3 separate regions of the Homo sapiens genome follow, and all the other regions are linked to region 2. Evidence: promoter capture Hi-C in human tissues and cell types (Jung and others, 2019). All regions are on one chromosome and are shown on one strand. Each heading gives the region's core, a stretch centred on a gene start or on the middle of the fragment in contact. The rest is flanking DNA. Distances are from core to core; before and after follow the strand shown. Region 1 overlaps TRIP12 (thyroid hormone receptor interactor 12). Region 2 holds the start of SLC16A14 (solute carrier family 16 member 14). Region 3 overlaps TRIP12 (thyroid hormone receptor interactor 12).

What was found. Contacts are between HindIII fragments. The study calls those that stand out against the background at their distance.
Region 1: a contact is called between a fragment that was not itself captured here and the fragment with the promoter of SLC16A14 in region 2, in 1 of the 25 tissues and cell types used here (bladder).
Region 3: a fragment that was not itself captured here is called in contact with the fragment with the promoter of SLC16A14 in region 2 in 1 of the 25 tissues and cell types used here (adrenal gland).

Annotation. Positions count from the first base shown.
Region 1 is chr2:229,913,465-229,916,164 of GRCh38, forward strand. All of the region lies in intron 1 of TRIP12 (thyroid hormone receptor interactor 12), which reads right to left. Among named protein-coding and RNA genes, the nearest start is that of TRIP12, 7.2 kb to the right of the region's middle. The HindIII fragment of the contact is 7,687 bases long and covers 1-2,700 here.
Region 2 is chr2:230,067,510-230,070,209 of GRCh38, forward strand. SLC16A14 (solute carrier family 16 member 14) reads right to left here and starts at 1,415. Exons shown (of 5, transcript NM_152527.5): 1 at 1,046-1,415. The region is part of intron 1 of LOC107985995 (a long non-coding RNA gene); the gene reads left to right. RefSeq lists enhancers at 123-893, 1,289-1,408, 1,419-1,478 and silencers at 269-518, 789-1,058. The HindIII fragment of the contact is 6,778 bases long and covers 1-2,700 here.
Region 3 is chr2:229,831,057-229,833,815 of GRCh38, forward strand. The region is part of intron 6 of TRIP12 (thyroid hormone receptor interactor 12); the gene reads right to left. Among named protein-coding and RNA genes, the nearest start is that of TRIP12, 90 kb to the right of the region's middle. The HindIII fragment of the contact is 5,189 bases long and covers 1-2,759 here.

The sequences.
Region 1 (2,700 bases), core at 134-2,633, 150 kb before region 2:
TATGTATTGATAAATAAATCATCATCTACTAATAAACATCATCTCCAAATGCTAAATTTGGGGTAACCAACTAACTAAAATATTCTAGGGTCTTAACAATTCCTTAAGTAGCTGATTTTAATGAGCCTAATTTTGAAAAATTTATATTCTACACTCAGCTGCCAACCCCTGAAAAATGAAAACAAGCAAGTAAATTATGGCAAACGATGCTAATATTATTTCACAACATCGTTTCTCAATGTGTCACACCAGAACACACTACCACGTACACCTACCATGTACAATGCATTATGTTGGAAGCCTTGTGCTAGACACTGTGAAGATAAAAGAATGAGATCTCTACCTTGAAGAGGCCAAAAACCCAGTTAAGTTAAAATGTAAACAACTAATTATGTAAGACAGAACGTGAAAGTCATCCTGAAATATGTTACAGAAGGAGAATAGGAGAGTAAGGAGTAAAAATTTTAAAGGAGTCACTGGAAGAAAGTTAAGTGTAAGTATATATATTTCTAAGAGATACAGGCCAGGCGCGGTGGCTCACACTTGTAATCCCAGCACTTTGGGAAGCCGAGGTGGGTGGATTGCCTGAGGTCAGGAGTTGGAGACCAGTCTACAATCCCAGCTACTCAGGAGGCTGAGGCAGGGAATCGCTTGAACCAAGGAGGTGGAGGTGGAGGCTGCAGTGAGTCGGGATCGCACCACTGCACTCCAGCCTGGGCGGCAAAGCAAAACTCTGCCTCAAAAAATAAAAATAATAATAAAAATAATAGATACAAGATGTGAGAGGGGGTGTCAATTCAAGTAGACAAAAAACCAAAGCAAAAATGCTAAAAAGTTGCTGGGTGTGTTCAGAGAGGAAGAAACAGTTCAATCTGATTGCAGCCAAGGATGTAAAACAGAATTACGAAACACTGGGGTCTGAGAAGTTGACAGCATTTGCATATATTTCCTATTTACAAGGCTACTAGAAGCACTTGGTTTTTGAGAATCAAAAAAAGTAGGGGACATTCATATGATCTCTATGAACCTGCTCTCTAAGGACACAAAGTAGCTTAAATTACAACTGAAGAGAGAATTTCAAGAGATGGGCTACTGTGAAAACTCACTTTAGGTTTCCAGGGCATCGCACATGTTTACCAGTATAAAATCTTTAAATTAAGTTCATCTGACCTTAAGAACACAGCACAAGGTACATCTATTTATTCAGAGCACTGCCCACGGCTAGAGTGAGTAGGAGTTTTGAAGTCAGGGTAGAACTCATTGGTTATGACAGCCAACAAGTTGATTAAAATACACACTGAAATGCTGTAACTTCAAGTCTTGAAGGCTTGTTGATGGACACTTAGGCTTATAAATAGCCTTCAAAAATCCATGTATGGGTAATAACACCATATTTATAGAAATATGTACATGCTCTCTAAAAAGAAACAAACAGAATAAACTACAATGATGTATACTATTATAAATTGGAAACACTAATCATTTAGCACTGCATTAAAACATATTGGCCAGGCACAGTGGTTCATTCTTGTAATACCAGCACTTTGGGAGACCAAGGCGGGTGTATCACGTGAGGTCAGGAGTTCAAGACCAGCCTGGCCAACAGAGTGAAACCTGTCTCTACTAAAAATACAAAAAATTAGCTGGGTGTGGTGGCAGGCACCTGTATCCCGGCTACTCGGGAGGCTGAGGCAGGAGGATTGCTTGAACCCGGGAGGCAGAGGTTACAAGTGAGCCAAGATTGCGCCACTGCACTCCAATCTGGACAACACAGCGAAACTCAATCTCAAAAAAAAAACTTATTTAGGTCCTCAATGTACTTTATCAACTATTACATGCACATAATGGTCAATTAAAGAGTAACAAAATGGCTTGCCCTAATTCTTTTTAAAATGTATGATTTAAAGTAACTTGCAGTCTCCAAAATATATACTGACTAAAAGTCTCAAAGTCATTTTAGCATTAACGATGCAAAATAAGAATCAAAATTTTAAAAATAGGACATTAAGCCATTACAAAATATTTCCACTTACAGTATCTTATTTTATTTTCACAAGACTTATTCTGTCAACAAACGCTTAATCCCTATCATGGGCCAGCTACTGTGCTAGATGCAGAGATAAAAAGGGACACTACTTGGGATTAGTGTCCTTATAAAAGTTAAAAAAAGGGTGAGGGCTAAAGACTTTAAAGAATTCATAATCAACTAAGGAATACTATTGTATACTAAAAAAAAAAAAAAATTTTTTGAGACAGGGTCTCACGGTCACCCAGGCTGGAGTGCAGTGGCACAATTACAGCTCAGCACAGCTTCCATCTCCCAGGCTCAAGCAATCCTCTCACCTCAGCCTCCCAGGTAGCTGAAGACTACAGGCATGTGCCACCATGCCCAGCTAATTTTTTACTTTTAGTAGCAACAAGGTCTCTACTAAGTTGCTCAGGCTAGTCTCAAACTCCTGGGCTCAAGTGATCCTCCTGCCTCAGCCTCCCAAAGTTCTGGAATTACAGGCATGAGCCACTGGGTCAAATGTTTCAAGTAGGATACCTATGCATATAACAGAGGTATGTTCGAGTTAAAAGAGTTTTAACAAATGAGGCAATGGTCCACAGTACTGTAAACAAGTGGAGAAAGGGCCTTGTGTTCCAATTCATCTGTGGAGCCTAATCTAAATACAGAATGTCTAGCATATAAATGACAAC
Region 2 (2,700 bases), core at 165-2,664:
CCAACACTGCCTCTCTCCCCTCTCTTCTCTCTCTCTCTCTCTCTCTCTCTCTCTCTCTCTCTCACACACACACACACAGCCGCACACGCACGCACATGCAAACAAAGAAGCCAGACAAGGCAAAGGAGAATCTCTCTAAGCCCCAATAATGGCCCTCAGTCATCCTTGTTAATGAGCCCGAATCAACTTTTCCTCAGAAAGAAAATGGCTTAATTGGAAAGCAGAGTTCAGCTCCTAAAACATCGTCATGGCCTTGGCAGCGTTTAGCCCCGAAATGGCCGTCCCCGGTCTCTCACCCCATTTCAGCCTCTCTTGAGGAGCCTCAATCGGAAGCGCTAAGGGGGCCCAGCCTCTGCGCGCCCTGGGTGCGGGATCGTGCCCGCGGGGTCCGGCCTCGCGCCCCACCCTTCGAGCGCCCGCCCCCACCCGCGCTCGGTGCTCCCGCTCCCTTGGCACCCCGAGACCACATCCCCACTTCGGGCACCCCGCATCCCTCGGCGCGTTCGGAAGCCAGCAGCCCACCGGGGAAGCTGGGCCGGCTGCAGCACCACAGCCTGTGCAGAGAGGCATCCGCACCCCGCGAAGTCCCTAGGCGCAGCCCCGGGTCCCCCGCTCTGCGCCTCATCACTGTCCAGTTCGAGTCCCAAACGGGCCTAGAGAGCAGCCGGGCAGCGAGGCTGGGCTCCGGGCAGAACGCGCTTCTCCAGCCGGACGGGGGTGCCCAGGATGACGCTCGCGGGGCCCCGGCCAGCTTGAGCAGCAAGGCGCGCGTCCCCAAGCTCCGCCTGGCGGTCTGCCCTGAACCGCCGGTTACCCTGCCCGCCCGCAGCTCCCAAGCCCCCGCGGCGGCCTTGGCACTACCACCTGCCCCGGCACAGTCTCGCCCTCCACCGCCCGGGCAGCCTTTCCCGAGCCTGCCTTGGGCTGGGGCTGCCCCTTCCCGGGGGTCCCTGGGGGTGCAGCGGCCATCTGAAACCTAGGCTCCGATGCCCCCGGCGTCGCTCCATTCCCCAGGCCCGCGGCGCGCGCGGCCTCGGATACTCACCGCCCGAGGCCCGCTGGGCTGCGGCCTCACTCGGCTCCACGCCCGGATCCTCGAACTTGCTGCTCTGCTTGGAGCCCCCTGAGCTGCTGGGTGTAGAGATTTGTTGCAATGTCGCCTATCATCCTGGAGACGCGGGTGCCTGCGGCTCAGCTCTCCGCCCGGCTCGGTGCGCTCTGTGAGGGGCTCCCGGGCTCTTCCGCCGCTCGCTGCCAGGCCAGGTGAGCGTTTGGTGGAGCTGAAAGCTCGACGCCTCAGTCCAGGTGGCTTTAAAACGGGTGCGTTTGGAGGTGCCCAAACCTAACCTGGGCTTCCTTCCAATCGGAGCAATTTCAAATCTTCATGCTCGTTCATTCCTATACCGGCTAATTCTGGTTTGGCAGGGAAAAAAAATGCAGTCACCTCACATGCACACTCTTGTGGCCGGTTGAAGTTTATAGCTTTGGCTGAGGTTCCGCTAAGGCGCTGCACATTTATCACTGGCGGAAAGGTCCTGAAATCTAATCCAGGATGCAAGTGAGACTAGCAGTAGCCTCCATTTCTCTGAGATGGGAGAGAAGGGATGAAACAGACCCTCACTGAAATATTTTTGGCCAAAGAGGACTCAAAGTCCCTTATTCTCTCTCTTTTAGAGACACGGGTTTCACTATATTGCCAGGCTGGTCTCGAACACTTGGACTCAAGGAATCCTCTGGCCTTGGCCTCCAAAGTGCTGGGATCACAAGCTGAGCCACCGTGACCGGCCAGTCCCTCATTCTTGTTTCCACCCTGGGTCCCACCTCTCCCTGCTCTTTCTGCACGTCCATTACCTACCTTCGTGGGCACCAGGCACAACTTTCATCTCAATACCTCCCTACCTCATTCCCAGCAGGGCACACAACATAGTGCTTTGCCTTGGACAGTTTTCTGTATTATTGAAGTGAATGTGTGAGTCGATGAAGCCTGTGCTGTTTTTTCCCGCCTGAAGGTTTTGCAGTAATTCTCTGCTGCTGTTGTGATAAACTGCCACAGTAATAGCAGAGGAAAACCACACAAATTCACTATTTTACAGTTCTGGAGGTCGGAAGTTTGAAATGGGTCATACTAGGCTGAGATCATGGTGTTGGCCACCTTGAAGGCTGTGTTCCTTCTCGTGGCTGTAGGGGAGAGCCACCAGCTTCTGCAGGCCGCCCACATTCCTTGGCTGGTGGCTCTTCCTCCATCTTCAAAGCCAGCACTGCTGCGTCATTTTGTCTTCTTTCCATACTCACATTGCCTTGTCTCCCCTTTTCTGCCCCCACCCCTGTCCACTTTTAAGGACCCTGGGGATTACATTGAGTCCAATGAGATAATCCAGATAATCTCTCTATTTTAAGGTCAGCTGATTAGCAACCTTAATTCCATCTGCAACCTTAATTCCCCTCTTGCCATGTAAGGTAACAAATTCACATGTTCCAGGGATTAGGATGTGGACATCTTTGGGAGACCATTATTCTGCCTACCACAGATTTCCTTCTTTCTTCTTTTCCTTTTTCTTTTCTTCCTTCTTTTTCGTTTCTTTGAAAAAAAATTCACATGTATTTCACATTGCCTTCCTCGGTCACCCAAGCTGGAGTGCAGTAGCATGATCACAGCTCATTGCAGCCTCAACCTCCTGGGCTCAGGTGATCCTCCCACCT
Region 3 (2,759 bases), core at 249-2,748, 240 kb before region 2:
TTATGCTTGTTTTTCATTTATATGTGGCTTTTGACAAATTTCTTGTGCCGTTGAAACTGTTCTTTAATTAAGATGTCCTGAATCCCTCTTCTGAAAGTCAATAAAGAACATACTGCTGTAACAATTGTGATTATTTAACAGATGGCCAATTAGTAACAAAAATAATAAAAAGGCAAAATAGACATTTGGGGGAAATGTTGTATGTAGACGTCTGCCTTCTAAGTCTGCTTTATTTCCGGACTACAGTCTTGATACAATCATTTATCTGTTTTCATTAACTTCAAGAGTGCAAAAAGATATTACAACTAACAGATGACTGCTATGAAGCATGAAGGAGGTTGGGCATGGTGGCTCACTCCTGTAATACCAACACTTTGCGGACCATGGCAGAAGGATCATTTAAGCTCAGGGGTTCAAGACCAACCCGGGCAATATAGTGAGACTTGTAGTCCCAGCTACTGAGTTGGGCATGCCTGAGTCGAGAGCACTGCTTGGGCCCAGGAGGTAGAGGCTGCAGTGTGCCGTGATCGTGCCACTGCACTCCAGCCTGAGCGGCAGGGCCAGACTCTGTCTCAAAACAAAAACAAGAAGTATGAAAGACAGGGCAACTAAAGTGTCAAAACTAGTGTGAAATGAAGAGTTAAGACTCAGGATACTATTAATCGAAATACTAACCTGACCAACAATGACAAAAAAACAGTCTAAGCTAATGGAGGTAGAGTCTATTATAAATCTGAACAGGAAGTAAAACCATATTCCTGCAAAACTAGCAGTTAATTGTGCCTCTATGTGTCTGCTGAGGTCAAAGGTTTTTTTTGTTTGTTTTTTGGGTTTTTTTTTTTTTTTAACACAGATGATTGATCTACATAAGCTCTTCCACAATACCTTAAGCCCTATATACTGCACAGATTGTGACAGAATGCAAGCCAGGAAGAATATTTTTGTCATAATTGTTAAAGAGGCATGTGTGAATAACATATGCGAGTTTAAAGAGCTTGTCTGAAGAAAAAGATGCCAAAATACCAGCCACTGACTGTATTTTCATATTACCATTCTCTTCACACACCATTAAGTATTTTCTATGTAACTTCATTATTGGGATTAAAAAAAAAATTCTTAGAAAAGCTTATGGTTTAAAACAGGGTCAGCAAAATATGGCCCAAAGGCCAAATCCAGTCCACCACATGGTTTTGTAAATAAAAATTTTATTAGAACATAGCTGTACTCATTCATTTACAAGTCTGTGGCCGCTTTCACGCTATAATTACAGAATTGAGTACTTGCAACAGAGACTACATAAAGCATAAAACATTTACTATCTGGCCTTTTACAAAAGTGTTGGTAACTCCCCCACCACTCTGAAAAGTTTAGAGCCATAGAGAGACAGATTAACCAGAAATACTGAAGTTGTATAAAGGCTGGGCAAAACCCACACTTCTGGTAAAGAAAAAGGAAATTAACCAATAACTACACACTATAATGCTACTTACAGGTAGGCAGCATTTATGAAAACGCTTACCATACAACACAGGCATTGTCTAAGTTTCCTCATAACTGTACAAAAGGTATTATAATCATCATGCACATAAGGAAACTAAGGTTTTGTGACTTTGAGCATACTTGGCCAAGGTCAGATAGCTAGTTATGGCTGAGAGATCTGAACTCAGGAAGTCTGACTTCACAGGTTGTACCCTTAGAAACTGTATGACTCAAATATATTCTTTAGCAGTGATTTTTAATTCAAATACAGTTGCTTCTTCACATTATACAGAAATGCTGTTAACGAATACTGTTACTAGGTACAATAATAACTGAAATGGCTCTTAAACTTATCTTAAGACTATTCCATCTATGTAGGAAGCAAATACCGAGTTTTAACAAATGAAATAGTGGGTATTTTTTAAAACACACTCTGGAGCCCATACATTAAAAAACAAACACACAGAAATCTAACCTGTTAGAGTACTGCTGGGTTTTTAAGTTTATTTATCAGAGAATCTACTTGATTTTACTTTAAAATGTTCTCCAGACCTACAACCATTAAAGGTTTCTACCTAACATTACTTCTTAAATATTTTATTCTAACGACTTTCATAATGAATATCTCAAACTGCACTGCCACAAAGACATCAATTAATCAAAACATAAAACCTATAGAAGAACATAATTAAAAGAGATGCTAAGGTTCTATTATAGCAGGGTCCCAACCTTTGGGGAGCCACAGAATCTTTTTTATTTTTATTTTTTTGAGACAGGGTCTTGCTCTCTTGCCCAAGCTGAAGTGCAATGGTGCAATTTACAGCTCACTGCAACTTCCGCCTCCAGGGCTCAAGCGATCCTCCTGCCTCCGCCTCCTGAGTAGCTGGTACCACAGGTACATGCCACCAAGTCTGGCTAAGTTTTGTATTTTTTTGTAGAGACAGGGTTTCACCATGTTGCCCAGGCTGATCTCAGACTCCTGAACTCAAGTGATCCACCTGCCTCGGCCTCTGAATGTTGGAGTTACAGGTGTGAGCTACTGCCAGAAGTCTGATTATCAGTAGAGGGTAGGGTGCTGGTTTTGACAGAAATTGGAAACTAATTGTGAAGAAAAGGATTCTTTTGCCATACCTCTGATAGCAAGTATTAAGCTTTTGTTCCCTTTTATGAAGTAGTTTAGGTTATCTAAAGTGGGAGTTTAGATATGAGTTATGAGTTATCTAATTTTGTAAAACATATATAAAAACTATTTTTGTATATGTTTTACAAAATTAGTTTGG